Regions from separate parts of the Homo sapiens genome. Here all the other regions are linked to region 2. The links are contacts of gene promoters, found by promoter capture Hi-C in blood cells and fetal thymus (Javierre and others, 2016). All regions are on one chromosome and are shown on one strand. Each heading gives the region's core, a stretch centred on a gene start or on the middle of the fragment in contact. The rest is flanking DNA. Distances are from core to core; before and after follow the strand shown. Region 1 overlaps TRIT1 (tRNA isopentenyltransferase 1). Region 2 holds the start of CAP1 (cyclase associated actin cytoskeleton regulatory protein 1). Region 3 overlaps MYCL (MYCL proto-oncogene, bHLH transcription factor). Region 4 has its middle 3.2 kb from the start of BMP8B. Region 5 overlaps TRIT1 (tRNA isopentenyltransferase 1).

Region 1 (2,700 bases), core at 197-2,696, 170 kb before region 2:
TATGGGAAGTTGTCCTGTGCCTACTAGAATGTTAGCAATGTCTCTGGCCTCTACCCATTAGATGCCAGGAACCCACCTCCCCAGTTATTAGAACCAAAAATGTCTCCAGGGATTGCCAAACGTCCCCTAGGAGGCCAAATCACCCCAAGTTGAGACTACTGATATAGCTATATACATTAACATATAAAGATATCCATAACATAGTGTTAAAAGAAAATAGAATAGTATCTAACCTCTGAGTCAATTTATGTAATAACATATACACACATGACACATGTGCTTAAATATATATACAAATGTCTGGAAGGATGTGAACCAAAATCATTACTCCAGGATGCTAAGACTATGGTTAAATTGTCTCTGTACTTTTCAGTATTATTGGATTTTTTTAATAAGCATGTCTCATTTTTCTTTTCTTTTTTTTTTTGAGATGGAGTTTCGCTCTTGTTGCCCAGGCTGGAGTGCAATGGCGTGATCTCGGCTCACTGCAACCTCCGCCTCCTGGGTTCAAGTGATTCTCCTGCCTTAGTCTCCTGAGTAGCTGAGATTACAGGCATGCACCACCATGCTTGACTAATTTTTTTGTATTTTTAGTGGAGATAGGGTTTCTCCATGTTGGTCAGGCTGGTCTCGAGCTCCTGACCTCAGGTGATCTGCCCGCCTCAGCCTCCCAAAGTGCTGGAATTATAGGCGTGAGCCACTGTGCCCGGCCCCCGCATGTCTCATTTTTCTGAACACAAAAATGCTTTGTTCTCATTTTTTTCATAGTGCTTCCAATTCAATAACCAAAATCCTGTTGGTTCTGTTTACAAAATATCAAAATGGTTACCTATTCTCTCCAGCCAAAGCCCAACTCCAGCCTCTCTCACCCAGACTAATGTAACAGAATCCTAAACTGTTTTTCCTTCTCTAACCCACTCTCCACCCAGTTACTTCATAAAATAGATTTACAGGCCAGGTGCAGTGGCTCACGCCTGTAATTCCAACCCTTTGGGAGCCCGAGGTGGGCAGATCACGAGGTCAGGAGTTCGAGACCAGCCTGACCAACATGGTGAAACCCTGTCTCTACCAAAAATACAAAAATTAGCCAGGCGTGGTGGCATGCGTCTGTAATCCCAGCTACTCAGGAGGCTAAGGCAGGAGACTTGCTTGAACCCGGGAGGTGGAGGTTGCAGTGAGCTGAGATTGCGCCACTGCACTCCAGCCTGGGTGACAGAGCGAGACTCTGTCTTGAAAAAAAAAAATAGACTTACTACCACTTCCCTCTTTAAAACCTCAAACCTCATGGCATGACTTTTGAGGGCCTCAAAAATTTGTTCCCAGGGTCTATATTTTTAGTTTTACCTCCTACCACTGTCCCTCAAGTACCCTCTATGCCAGATAGTTGCTGGTCATTCCTTGAAAACATACCATGCATTTTCTTAACTTTGCCCATACTGTTCTTTTGTCAGTAATATTATTCTTCCCACTTTTCTGCTTGATAAAATGTACACAGTGGTACAGAGGAAAAGAATGGGATGGAGGATGAATGAATAAATAAATAAGAGTTAGAGGAAAAAGTATAAAACAGCATGGAGATGAGGATTTAATAAAGTAATTTTTGGTAGGGAGGAGACAATAACAGCACCCACGGCAAAAGGCTACGGTAAGGATATTAGATAATATTTGTCAAACTTTTAGAACTGCCTGACATATATATTATTCTTGCTATTATCTTCAGTAGTATAATTATTATGATCATTCCTGTAATGAGGGCTTGAACTCTGACTGCCACAATGAGGGAGGTACAGGGAGGCTGCTACTCACAAGCAGAGCCCCAAAGGGATCAAGAGGCCAACAGGGTCCTGGTCTGATTCAAGTTTCTGAGGAATCCAAAACTACACAGAAAAACAAAACCAATTCCATTAAATCATAATGGAGCACATATGTGAATTCCTATATACCCCAAGTAACTTTTACTCCTCAAATATATCTTTTTGAAGTGGAGCTGCTTCAACACCCTGCCTCAGGCACTGAAACATCAGGGTAGCACTCATCCTCATGAATCTGAATCTGCAAGCCTCATCTGTGCTCTCCTATGGTTTCCTGTTTGGCCAGTAGTCACTTCTCCTTCCTTATATAACACAGATTTGACTCCAAAGTTCTCCCTGTAGGTGCAAAAACATGACCACATATGTACAACATACACAGCTTAATACTGCAGCCAAAAGAAAACTAAATTCACTTACAATGGAGGTGAACCAAGGGACCTAGAAACTCATTATTTATATGTGTATCTATCTATCTATCTATCTATCTATCTATATATATATATGAATGATGAGTCGAAAATTTTGAGATTTCCTTTTTAGCCTCTTGTAAGTCTCAGTCCTTCTAAAAGACTGCCTTTGGCTGGGTGCAGTGGCTCACGCTTGTAATCACAGCACTTTGAGAGGCCGAGGCTGGCGGATCACCTGAGGTCAGGAGATTGAGACCATCCTGGCTAACACGGTGAAACCCTGTCTCTACTAAAAATACAAAAAATTAGCCAGGCGTGGTGGCGGGCGCCTGTAGTCCCAGCTACTCAGGAGGCTGAGGCAGGAGAATGGCTAGAACTTGGGAGGCTTAGGTTGCAGTGGGCCGAGATGGAGTCACTGCACTCCAGCCTGGGTGACACAGCAAGACTCCATCTCAAAAAAAAAAAACAAAAAAAAAAGGACT
Region 2 (2,700 bases), core at 3-2,502:
AAATGAAAATACGCTTGAAGAACTCAGCATGGGCCTGGCAAGTAGTCAGCGTGCAGTAAATGGTAGCTGTTATTTTAAGAACTTTATTTGTTGAATGATTGACTCTGGCACATAACGCCTGCATTCAACTTGAAACACGGAGCTGTCACAGTCGTTCAGCTGAAGGGGCGGGAACTGTGGCACTTGCCAATTTTTTCTAGAAATAAATCTTTGTGGGAGGATAATGACCGGTTGGAGAGTGTGAGTCTTGAGGGAACAAAGATCGGATCTCCCGGCCCAAGGAGTACGGAAGCGAAGCCTCCCCTGCGCGCGGCAGCCACCGTGCGTAACCTCCCCTGAACCGAGTAGCAGCCGCCTGAGCCCACCCAGCCCTGGGCGAGGCTGCCTCAGAAGCCGGATTTCAGCAGAGTGGGTGCAGGATCTGCTTTAATTCTGCTCATCTTATTCTCGGGGACCACACCCTGCGCGCCGGGAGGAAGGGCTCCAAAACCACAGGGCGGAGGCTTCCGCGCGGCCCCAGACTTGACCATCTATGGTCACAGAACACACCGACCAAACAGGAAGTGGGGTGAGAGCGGAGGGTTCCCTACCTTCCCAGCCCCGCGACTGCCAGCCGGGCTGGGGCTGACCCACCGCGCCCTCACTGACCCCCACGCCCTGCGCCCAGTCTCCGCAAGTCCTCCCACAACAATGTCCAGACTAATTGCCTTCCCACGTCACAAACGGGGAAACCGAGGTATGCACGCCCAGAGACAGGCGGAGCGTGGCCTCGATCACCACCGAGAGCTGACGGCCGCCCGGATTCCCGCCCTCAGAGAATCCTGGCCCCCAGTCGTTCCAAGACCCTTTACGGACTGCAGCTTAAAGGAACCGGCCTCTGCCATTGAGACCAAACTGACAGAGGAACTGGTCACTCTTCTGTTCTTTCCAGAGAGGAGCTTAGCCAGGGACTTCTGCCCTTCCTGGGCCCGGGCCTCGGGGGCGATTCCGGGTAGGTAAAGCGGAACGAGGGCGTGGCCTCTCTTGTGAGCCCGCCCTCCCCGTGTCGCTCCCGCCTTGAGGGCGGGGCTCTTTCCCAAGTGCCCTCTGTGAGAGCCGGGCCGCTCTCTCCGGGGCGTGGCGAAGAGGGGCGGAGTCACGAGCGGGGCGGTGAGACTTCCTGCCCAGTCGCGGGCCAGCCTAGCGCTTCAGCCGGCGGCTCATTTCCGGTGGGGGCGCCGCGCCCAGTGAGGGCCCGGAAGTGGGTCGCGCGGAGATTGCTGGGCGGTTCTTGCCGGAAGCGGAGAGCGGCTGATCGCAGTCCGGAGGTGAGGCGGAACTCTGAGGTGAGGGTGTGCAGCTTGGTAGGGATTGGGGTCCCTTCCGGGGCCCATCGGCCCCTGGTGGTGTTAATGGCCCTTCTGGCCTACGCGCGTGTCATGAACCCTGCCGAGAGGGCCGGGGCTGAGGCCCTCAGGCCGACCCGGACTCTTGGGCGCGGTCTCTTGAGGTGGGGCCGGGGTGAGCAGCTGAGTCCGGGTGCCCCGGGGAGGCCCCTCTGCCCGATTTCGCAGCGCTGCCCATCAGCTTCAGCGGAGGCCTGATTCCTGAGGTGCTCTGACTGGAAGGAACCTCCGAGATCGGAGAGTCTTCCCTGTCTCCTGTTGATGCTCCCATTGCACTGATAGGTAAATTGATCCCTAGAGAAGAGGCTAGTCTGAGATATATAGCGAGTGAGGAAAAGAATCGGAATCATGATCCTGGTGCCTTAGATAACCAGCCCCAGTTCTTCCCGTGTTGCTCGGAACCTCTCTAACTTGGGATGGTCTTCCGGTCGGTGTTGCCCCGCAGGCTGCTGCAGGTTAAAGGCCAGCGCTGCGTGGAACTTTTTTTTTTCTCTCCTCCCAAATTGAGCCGTTTGAAATGCCTAGGGAGTTTTTAAAAGAAAGGCGGGCACATCCTTGTATTTACAGGCAGATATCCTCCCTTTCCTCCTCGGCTGCTGCTCTTACTTTGACAAGCCAGGCTAACATTGAAGGTATGTACTTCTGGACCTGAAATCAGACGGCTCAGGTTTGGTCTGGCCTCAGTGCTGAGTGTCTGTGGCCATAGGTGCCTTAAACTTCTTTCAGCCTCCTTTTGTTCATCTTTTAAGTGGAGATCTCTGCTGACCCCACAAGATTAAATTCAGCGTAACAAATTGTGTTTATTCTGTGCCAGCATTTTCCCAGATGCGGGGAATGCAGCTTTAAAACAAAACAATGTAGACCCTGCCCGCGTGGAGCTAGCAGTGTTTGCAGGGATGTTTAAGAAGTAATTATAAATGTTGATGAGTGTTAGGAAAGAACAGGGTGCTCTGAAAGTATGTAACAGGGGGTTCAGGAAAAGCCCTTCTGAAGAAGCAGAGTTTTTAAGATGAATTTTGAAGGATAAATAGGAATGCGTTCGAAGAGTGGAATGAGAACATTTGAGACAGGTTAGCATCAGAACTGTGTCAGTTGAAGCTCTTTGTGGGGCTCTCTCTTCAAGAGAAAATCCGGGGGCATATCAGCACATTTATCATTTACCAGACTTTTATTTAATTTATTTATTTGTATTTTTAGTAGAGATGGGGTTTCGCCGTGAAGGCCAGGCTGCTCTCGAACTCCTAACCTCAGGTGATCCCCCCACCTCGGCCTCCCAAAGTGCTGGGATTACGGGCATGATCCACCGTGCCCGGCC
Region 3 (2,700 bases), core at 170-2,669, 150 kb before region 2:
AGAGGCAGAAGTTAAACATACACTTTAGCCTTTTATTGTCTAACAGAGATGATGTCCTTCTCTCTTTGCTACACCAAGTGTGGCTTCTGGGTCACCCCGTATTGTCTATGTCCTGAGTTGGGAGTGTGATCCCTTAGGTGCATTATTCAGAGGCAAACCTAATTTGTAGAAATTGTCCTCTGAAATCCAGGAATAAACTCCTGACTATTTTCAGACAAAGATAGAGGTAGGAGTCTGTAGAAAAGAGCTAGGAAGGAGCTTAAAATACTTCGCATTCCAGAAACACCCTCCCTTCCCCCAGGAGATGGCTTTATTCCCACTCCTTTCTCAGCAGAGTTGACTCAAAAGAGCTGAAGCTTGGAGTCAGGCAGCTGGTACTAGGTGTGTGGGCTTAGGCAAACAACTTAAATGTCTCTGAGCTTCAGTTGGCTTTTCTGTGAAATGGGGCTGACAGCATCCTGCTCTCCAAGTTATTGTAAGAATTAAGATATGCAAAACTACTAACATTCATGCCTGTACCCATGGGTCCATACTATTGTACTAAGTGCTTTCAAAAATTTTTATTGAATTCTTTCAAGGTCCAGTAAAGGGAGATACGTCCTACAAACCAGACCCTTGACTAATGGCCTCAAAAAAGGAAGAAAAATACACTGGGAGTTTTAAGAAAAGAGTTCCAATAATCCATGTCAGTTTTACCAAACAGTTTCTTAGGTTCTAAGTGTGTTACCTATGTGCAGTGGGGGACAAGTGGAAAAAGCTTACCTGATAGGAGACTGGGCTTGGAATCCTGATTTTGCTATGACTTTGAGCAAGAAAACTCTCTGGGCTCCAGTACCATCAGGCAGATATTGCTTACTTACCAGGTTGGAGGGTCACAAGAGGGTCATTTTGTAAATGTGAGGAATTAAGAGGAGCTTTTTGACCGTACTGAGGCTCCATAGGAATTCGGGTGGGCAATACCAACCCAAGTCCCATCTGTAAGGAGGAGTTAGTGGAGGCTTCTTTCACCATGATGCTCATGGCCATCCTGAACAGCAACTGATTGCTTTTCAGTCCCAGATGGGGCCCCTTTGCAGCAAGACTATGCCACCCAGCACACATATGCCTCAGAGTTGCTGGTCATGGGACATTTGCTCCATTTCATCCCAATAAGTGGCAGGCACAATAGCCCCAAAGAGAGTTACAACAAGCAGTTAAATGACGGAATTCCACGTTTACCTTCTCCACATACCCCGTGCTAACAAACAAGCTGATCATCATAATATAGTGACTAAGACCTCTTGCTCTGGAGATAGGCAGAGCTGGTTTCAAATCACAACTGAATTACAAGCTTGTGAATTTGCATAGCTTTGTTTACTCTTAGAACCTCAGTTTCTTCATCTGTAGCCCTGACACATGGTTGATATGGCAGAGTGTTCAGACATAAGCAGTGCCCTATGAGGAACAGCTATTACTGAATTCCCCTGTCTTGCATTTACAGCAAGTTTATGAGAACTATGGGAGGAAAATGAAGCTTAAACTTTCTTTCATTAATTAAGGAGGAAGAATGTTTTTTTTGAGACAGGGTCTGGCTCTGTTGCCCAGGCTGGAGTGCAGTGGCGCAATCTTGGCTCACTGCAACCTCTGCCTCCCAGGCTCAAGCCATCCTCCCACCTCAGCCTCCCGAGTAGTTGGGACTACAGGCGTGTACCACCATGCCTGGCTAATTTTTGTATTTTTTGTAGACATGGGTTTTTGCCATGTTGCCCAGGCTGGTCTTGAACTCCTGAGCTCAAGCAGTCTGCCTGCCTCAGCCTCGCAAAGTGCTGGGATTACAGGCATAAGCCACTGCACCCAGCCAGGAGAAAGAATTTTAAAACTATCTTTCTGTAAGAAAAAAGTACATTGCAACATAAATTCTCAGAAAAAAACTTTAAAAGACATCTTGCAGAAGGTCATCATACCACTAAGATAAGAATAACACCATCCTAAAGAGTATAAGGCTTTATAGTTTAGAAAGCAGTTTTAAGTCTACCCCTTCATTTAATACCTGCAAAAACCCAGTGAAGTAGCATTTATCCCCATTTTACCGATAAGGAAACTAGGACTCAGAAAGATGAAACTAAAGGCTGCAGAAGTGGTGGAGCCAGGATTTCAAGCCTTCTAAAGTACAAATTCAGCACTCTTTGCAATTCACAAGAGAATTCCGTGTTCACTGAGTACTGAGCCTACATTGTTTCAACATGTCTGAAATGGCATTTCAGGAACCCAGAGTGGAATGACCAGGTTAGCAACATGGTTAGAGAAGTGCAGCCCTCTGGATCACTTGTGGCTACCCTGAAATAGTTTTCCGTGGTTGAGGAGGACTCAGGTGGCATAAGCTGCCCCCACTCTGACATGTTTGAGAAATCTTTTATTAGAAGATGTCCCAGAAGGCAACATTTTAAAATCAGGCAATCAGTAATCACAACTAAATACAAAATTTCAGGTGAACTTGCCTTTCAAAATAAATCAGACCCTTGCAACAGGAAATTGCCCCAAGAGTTTTTTTCCTTGTACAAAAACAGTTAACACCACTTTGCAAAAGGCATACAAAAATACAATATAAAAAAAAAAGACTCCCCCAGCATAATAGCCAACAGCAGCTTATAAAACACAAGCTATTCAGTTGAGACATCAGTAACCTACACCCAAACTGTCCTCCATAGACAATTCCAGAAG
Region 4 (2,700 bases), core at 94-2,593, 250 kb before region 2:
CACTTTTTTTACTGGCTTCGTGGTATTTTTTCATCATATTGTTATCATAATTTTTTTAATCAAGCTTATGTTATGGGATAATTATATTTTTATATTATATACTATGTTGTTATGAACAATCTTGTAGAATAATCTGTGCACATCCATGGTGATTTCTTTAGGATGAATTTCTAGAGATGGATTTTTTTTTTTTTTTTTTGAGATGGAGTCTTGCTCTGTCACCCAGGCTGGAGTGCAATGGTATGATCTTGGCTCACTGCAGCCTCCGCCTCAAGTGGTCTTTGTGCCTCAGCCCCCTGAGCAGCTGGGATTACAGGCGTGCACCACCATGCCTGGCTAATTTTTGTATTTTTAGTATACACAGGGTTTTGCCATGTTGGACAGGCTAGTCTTGAACTCCTGGGCTCAGGTGATCTGCCCACCCCAGCTTCCCAAAGTGCTGGGATTACAGGCGTCTAGAGATGGAATATTTGAATCAAAGAGCATATACACTTTTTATGGTTTTTGATACATATTATCTGTTGCCCCAATAGCACGAGGGTGCTTATTTTCTATCACCCTTACCAACACTAGATATAACTGTTAAATACATAAATAAATCAATCTCTGCTGGTTTGATAGATGAAAACCTCTCTGCTGTTGTAACTTGCATGTGGAGGGTTACTACACACTGCTCTCTTGTTTTTGAAACCCTGTCCTCCCCTGGCTTCAAGGACGCCTGCTCCCTTGCTGACCACTCCTCCCTGCCCACTTCTAAAACATGGATGTCTGCTGGGTCTGTCCACAGTCCTGTTCTCCCCTTAGACTTGACCTGGTGATGAGCTCATCCACTGAGGCTTCAGTGCCGCCATACAGTCACACCCAACTCCAAATATATTAGTAGGGCAGGCCTTCCTGCTAGATGCCAGAAGCTACATCCAATGACCGATAAGACATGACCAGAGCCAGAAGCCAAAACCCTGGCGCAGACACACGTCCCTCCCTCCCAAGGGCAGTTCAGTCTATTGATTCTACCTTCAAATGCCTCTTGAATCCCTGAGCCTGTGCACGCCCCTTTGCACTCAGGTGTTTCATGGAGCACCTCCTCCCCACTGGTCTCCTTATGTCTCATCTCACTACCCACCCCACCCAGCCCTCACTCATTCCGCAGAATGCATATTTCCAAATGAAAATCTGAATCCTTCCATGGCCTTTCATTGCTTACAGCAGAATTTCCCCAGGTGAGGATTCTGAGGGCTTTCCTGCAAAAGGGGTTCAGTACACACTGCGCTATATATTTCCCCCTTGGTAGAGCCCTCATGCACTTAGCACTTTGTAAGCTCTAGAAATCCTGCAGTAAAAATAAATAAATAAGTAAATTAAATAAATAAATAAATAAAAACCTGTTTAGCCTTAACTTGGCTTCTTCCAAATGCATGTGACTATAGCTTTTTAGTTTTTTGAGGACCACATCTTGGGGACCAGCAAGGCACAAGGTGATAAGCGCCCAGGACCCAGTGGTCTGGCATCATCACCTGGCCCCTGCTGCTGACCCATCTCCACAGTTTTTTTGTTTTGTTTTGTTTTTGTTTTTGAGACGGAGTCTTGCTCTGTCGCCCAGGCTACAGTGCAGTGGCGCAGTCTCGGCTCACTGCAAGCTCCACCTCCCGGGTTCACGCCATTCTCCTGCCTCAGCCTCCCTAGTAGCTGGGACTACAGGCGCCCGCCACCACGCCTGGCTAATATATTTTTTTTTTTTTTTGCATTTTTAGTAGAGACAGGGTTTCACTGTGTTAGCCAGGATGGTCTCAATCTCCTGACCTCATGATCCGCCCGCCTTGGCCTCCCAAAGTGCTGGGATTACAGGTGTGAGCCACCGCGCCTGGCCAATCTCCACAGTCTTATCTGGCTGCTAACCCCATATACTTGGCTGCAGTCCCATGGGAATACTTGTGGTCCTCCTACCTGTCCTCCTGTTGACACTTCTGTTCACCTGAACATGTGGTTTCCTGTACCAAGAAGGGAAACCCCTTTCCCTGTCTGGTCAGGTGTTACCTCCCTTTAAGATGCAGTTGAAGTAACACCTCCTTTTCCTGATGCCCTCTTCACCTTCATGAGCAGAGCCATTTCTTCCTTCCTCACTCTCTCAACCACTCCTTTTACAAAATAAAAGGGCATGTATTCACATGTTTGTTCCCTGCACTAGGCTGAGAGCTTCTGCAGGCAGGGACCATCATCTTAATTTACCTTTGGATCCCAGTGCGAGGCTTGCATTTAGGGTTTCAGTAAGTATGTGTGAAACAGAGTAGCCTCTGTTTCTCTGAAATAGCCTCTGAAAACAAGAGTCTCTCAACAGCTTCAAGGAACGGATCTCGCAACCTTCATGAACTCAGTAAGAAGTGCTTCCATTGAGAAGTGCTCATTATTTCACGGGGATGAAGAACAGAAGCACCAAGCTGTGTTAAAGTGAGGAGTCAGTGGCCAGTGGGGCTCACTCTCTTCGCTGTGTGACCGGCTCTCTTGTACATCAGCAACAAATGCAAATCCATGAATCTTCATGACTGAAACCATAAGGTTAAATTCATGACTGCTAATACCTACTGCATATAGAAAATGAAAAGAAACAATTTTAAAAAGCAGAGAAAAGCTTTCCATAAGAAAGATGCTACAGGAAAGCCTGAGCGCAGTGGCTAATGCCTGTACTCCCAGCACTTTGGGAGG
Region 5 (2,700 bases), core at 67-2,566, 200 kb before region 2:
GTGTTAACTAACTTGATGGTGGTATAGATAGATAGATGGATAGACAGATAGATAGATAGATAGATAGATAGATACACACATACATATATACACATATATAAAATCACTTTATATAGTTTAAATATATATAATTTTATCTGTCGATTATATCTCAATAAATCTGGATAAAAATAAAAGGCTGACTTCAAGTAAAAAAACAAAAACACAAATAAGTGCTTTTAAGCAGCAGGCCCTTGTAGATGCCAGGGATAAAGCAGTGAACAACAGACAAACATCGCTGCCCTCACCAAGCTTTATCTCTGCTACTCGGCAAATATTTGCATGTTTACTCTGTGCCAACCACTGTTCATTAAGCTGTGTTTATAAAATGGTGATAACAGATTATCTTGTCCGTTTGTTTTAAGGAATCATTATAACGTATGCATGTGCTTGATATAATGCCTGACACACAGAAGCACTCAACACAGAGAAGCCATGTCTACGTTTAGACAGGGAGGTGTGTCTTGCAGAAATTAGCCTCGATATACATTGGGTGCCCACTATATGTTCCACAATCATCTTAAAATAGTACTCAGATCCTGGCAGAATTTACTTTCCAGTGGGAACAAGAGATAAATAACAGGTGCTATGAGCTGTGGCAAAATAATGAGCCAGAACAGACTCTGGAGCCACCCACCTATTTTCAAATCCCAGCTTGCCCTTGGGAAAGTCACCTAACTGCTCTACTCAGTTTCCTCAGTTGTAAGACAGAGACAACAAGAACAATGACAAAACTACCTCATAGGGCTTTGTGAGGATTAAATGAGTTAATATGTGTAAAAGTGCTTAAAGCAGTGCCTAGCTCATAGGACTACCTAAGCACCAGCTAATGTTAACACTATTACGTATTAACTGCTAGGAGGAGAAATTAAGTCTCCCTAGAGTCAAAGAAGCTTTTTCTAAGGAGAGGACATCAGATCTGGGCCTTGAAGGATGTGCAGGAGTTCACTAGGTAAAGAGCAGGGGAAAGGACATTTCAAGGGAAGAAAACAGTTCAAGCAAATGAGCTGACCCATGGAAGAAATCATATCATTGAAACAAACAAAACTTAACAGCTGAAGCCTAGGTGGGTGGCAGCTGAAGCCCGAGGCACCGTTTCTGGCCATTAGTACTATAGTCCACCAAACTAGTCAGTCTTAAGTCAGAGCTTGCCCTGATAACTTCCAAGAAATGATACCATATCATAAACCAACATTTTAATAGCATTAACAATTTTTCCCCAATGAAGCAAATAAATCCAATTTGTACTTACCATTTACTGGGCACTACAGTGCCAAAACACTATGCTATTTACAACAGGACCTCACTTAATCCTTACCATGTCCCGTGGAATACAGATAACTTCATTTTATACATGAGGAAACAGGCTTTTAAGCAATATTCCCAAGATCACACAGATAGTATATTAGAAAGTAAAGTGTTCAGCTGCAAATACAAATAGTGGTTTCTTTCTCCCCCTGTCCCCTCCCTGCCACATAAAGTCTGAAAGTAGGCAGTTAAGTCATTAGTTCAGTTATTCAACAATGCCACCAAAACACCTTCCATCTTTCCTCCCCACCATCTTTACAGTATGAGCCACTGGCCCTGATGTTTATACAGTCTCCCATTCCCTATAATGCTTTCTTATTCTCATCTTAAAGTCCTACCAGCCAGGATTTTCTCAAGCTTTACTTTTTGAAATATTTCAGAGGTCAGCTCAATACAACTCACTAATTTCACAGATGGAGAAATAGATTTGCCCCTAGCAAACTGAGTTAAATTAATTAGTTAAATGAGCCTGGAATTGAGTGCTCCTTCCATGATACCAATCTAGTGGTGACTGTAAGTTGCCCACCAAAACCTGTCCTCCCATTCCTTCTTGGCACATGGCTTGACTACGTTTCTCAGCCTTCCTGGCAGGTAGGTGTGGCCATCGGGCTAAGTCATTGCCAATGGAAAGTGAGAATGTAGGCAGAAGTATCCGTGCCACTGCAGGGTCCAGGCCTTGAGGCAGCGGGTCTACCTCCTCCCTGTTCCTTTTCCCCTTCCCATCAGCTAGGACCAGTGATGACCCAGCTTCAAGCATGCAGCAGATGAGGACAATGCTCCAGAGGATGGAGAAGCAACATGATACGAGGAATCTGTGTCCCTGAATGACCATTTGGTGCACAGCTGCCCCAATGACCTGGATCACTCACTTCAGACAGGTTAATTCCCTTCAGAGCTGTTACGTGAGAAAGAATAAACTTCTTTGTTCTTTAAGCCACTGTATTGTTGAGTCTCTTTGTTATAGCAACTTAGCCTTTTACCTGAACTAATACAAACATGCAGCTTCCTTTGTAAGCATTCAGAGTAGCTTTACAAATAACCAGTTAGCCATCATTTTAGAAAACAGCCTTAACTGCCCAAGTAGGTGATAATCAAATACAGAAATTCCTGCTGGTGGCTATCCCAAAATTTCTTCATCCTGGTTAAAAAGTATTTAACAATTGAAGCAGATCACTTATGTAGAGACCTACTTAGTTTTTATGCTTTCATGCAATTGATTCAACAAATATTTGACTGTGTCTAGGTGCTAGGGATATTGACAAGTCACTGCATTCATAAAAGGTTGATTTCATGCATGTGTGTTTGGGGGAGGGGGTTGTTAGTTTTATTTTCTTTTTGAGCAACATGGTCTTG

Evidence for each region. Contacts are between HindIII fragments. The CHiCAGO score rates a contact against its expected background, and 5 or more counts as called.
Region 1: a fragment that was not itself captured here is called in contact with the fragment with the promoter of CAP1 in region 2 in 1 of 17 cell types (monocytes); the score reaches 5.3 in monocytes.
Region 3: a fragment that was not itself captured here is called in contact with the fragment with the promoter of CAP1 in region 2 in 3 of 17 cell types (M1 macrophages, M2 macrophages and monocytes); the score reaches 6.0 in M1 macrophages.
Region 4: a fragment that was not itself captured here is called in contact with the fragment with the promoter of CAP1 in region 2 in 2 of 17 cell types (M0 macrophages and megakaryocytes); the score reaches 6.8 in M0 macrophages.
Region 5: a fragment that was not itself captured here is called in contact with the fragment with the promoter of CAP1 in region 2 in 1 of 17 cell types (endothelial precursors); the score reaches 5.3 in endothelial precursors.

What each region holds. Positions count from the first base shown.
Region 1 is chr1:39,874,256-39,876,955 of GRCh38, forward strand. All of the region lies in intron 1 of TRIT1 (tRNA isopentenyltransferase 1), which reads right to left. Among named protein-coding and RNA genes, the nearest start is that of MYCL-AS1, 7.5 kb to the right of the region's middle. The HindIII fragment of the contact is 5,261 bases long and covers 1-2,700 here.
Region 2 is chr1:40,039,477-40,042,176 of GRCh38, forward strand. It overlaps CAP1 (cyclase associated actin cytoskeleton regulatory protein 1), which reads left to right and starts at 1,253. Exons shown (of 13, transcript NM_006367.4): 1 at 1,253-1,325. LOC105378669 (a long non-coding RNA gene) reads right to left here and starts at 970. Exons shown (of 3, transcript XR_001738013.3): 1 at 1-970. RefSeq lists enhancers at 271-904, 873-942, 905-1,539, 1,193-1,392, 1,463-1,552. The HindIII fragment of the contact is 17,502 bases long and covers 1-2,700 here.
Region 3 is chr1:39,893,051-39,895,750 of GRCh38, forward strand. It overlaps MYCL (MYCL proto-oncogene, bHLH transcription factor), which reads right to left. Exons shown (of 2, transcript NM_001033081.3): 2 at 2,378-2,700. All of the region lies in intron 1 of MYCL-AS1 (MYCL antisense RNA 1), which reads left to right. Among named protein-coding and RNA genes, the nearest start is that of MYCL, 7.5 kb to the right of the region's middle. The HindIII fragment of the contact is 183 bases long and covers 1,329-1,511 here.
Region 4 is chr1:39,790,678-39,793,377 of GRCh38, forward strand. No RefSeq gene overlaps it. Among named protein-coding and RNA genes, the nearest start is that of BMP8B, 3.2 kb to the left of the region's middle. The HindIII fragment of the contact is 2,562 bases long and covers 63-2,624 here.
Region 5 is chr1:39,835,804-39,838,503 of GRCh38, forward strand. It overlaps TRIT1 (tRNA isopentenyltransferase 1), which reads right to left. Exons shown (of 11, transcript NM_017646.6): 11 at 2,307-2,700. It overlaps LOC105378667 (a long non-coding RNA gene), which reads left to right. Exons shown (of 4, transcript XR_947221.3): 4 at 2,074-2,152. Among named protein-coding and RNA genes, the nearest start is that of LINC02811, 20 kb to the left of the region's middle. RefSeq lists a silencer at 1,100-1,300. The HindIII fragment of the contact is 772 bases long and covers 931-1,702 here.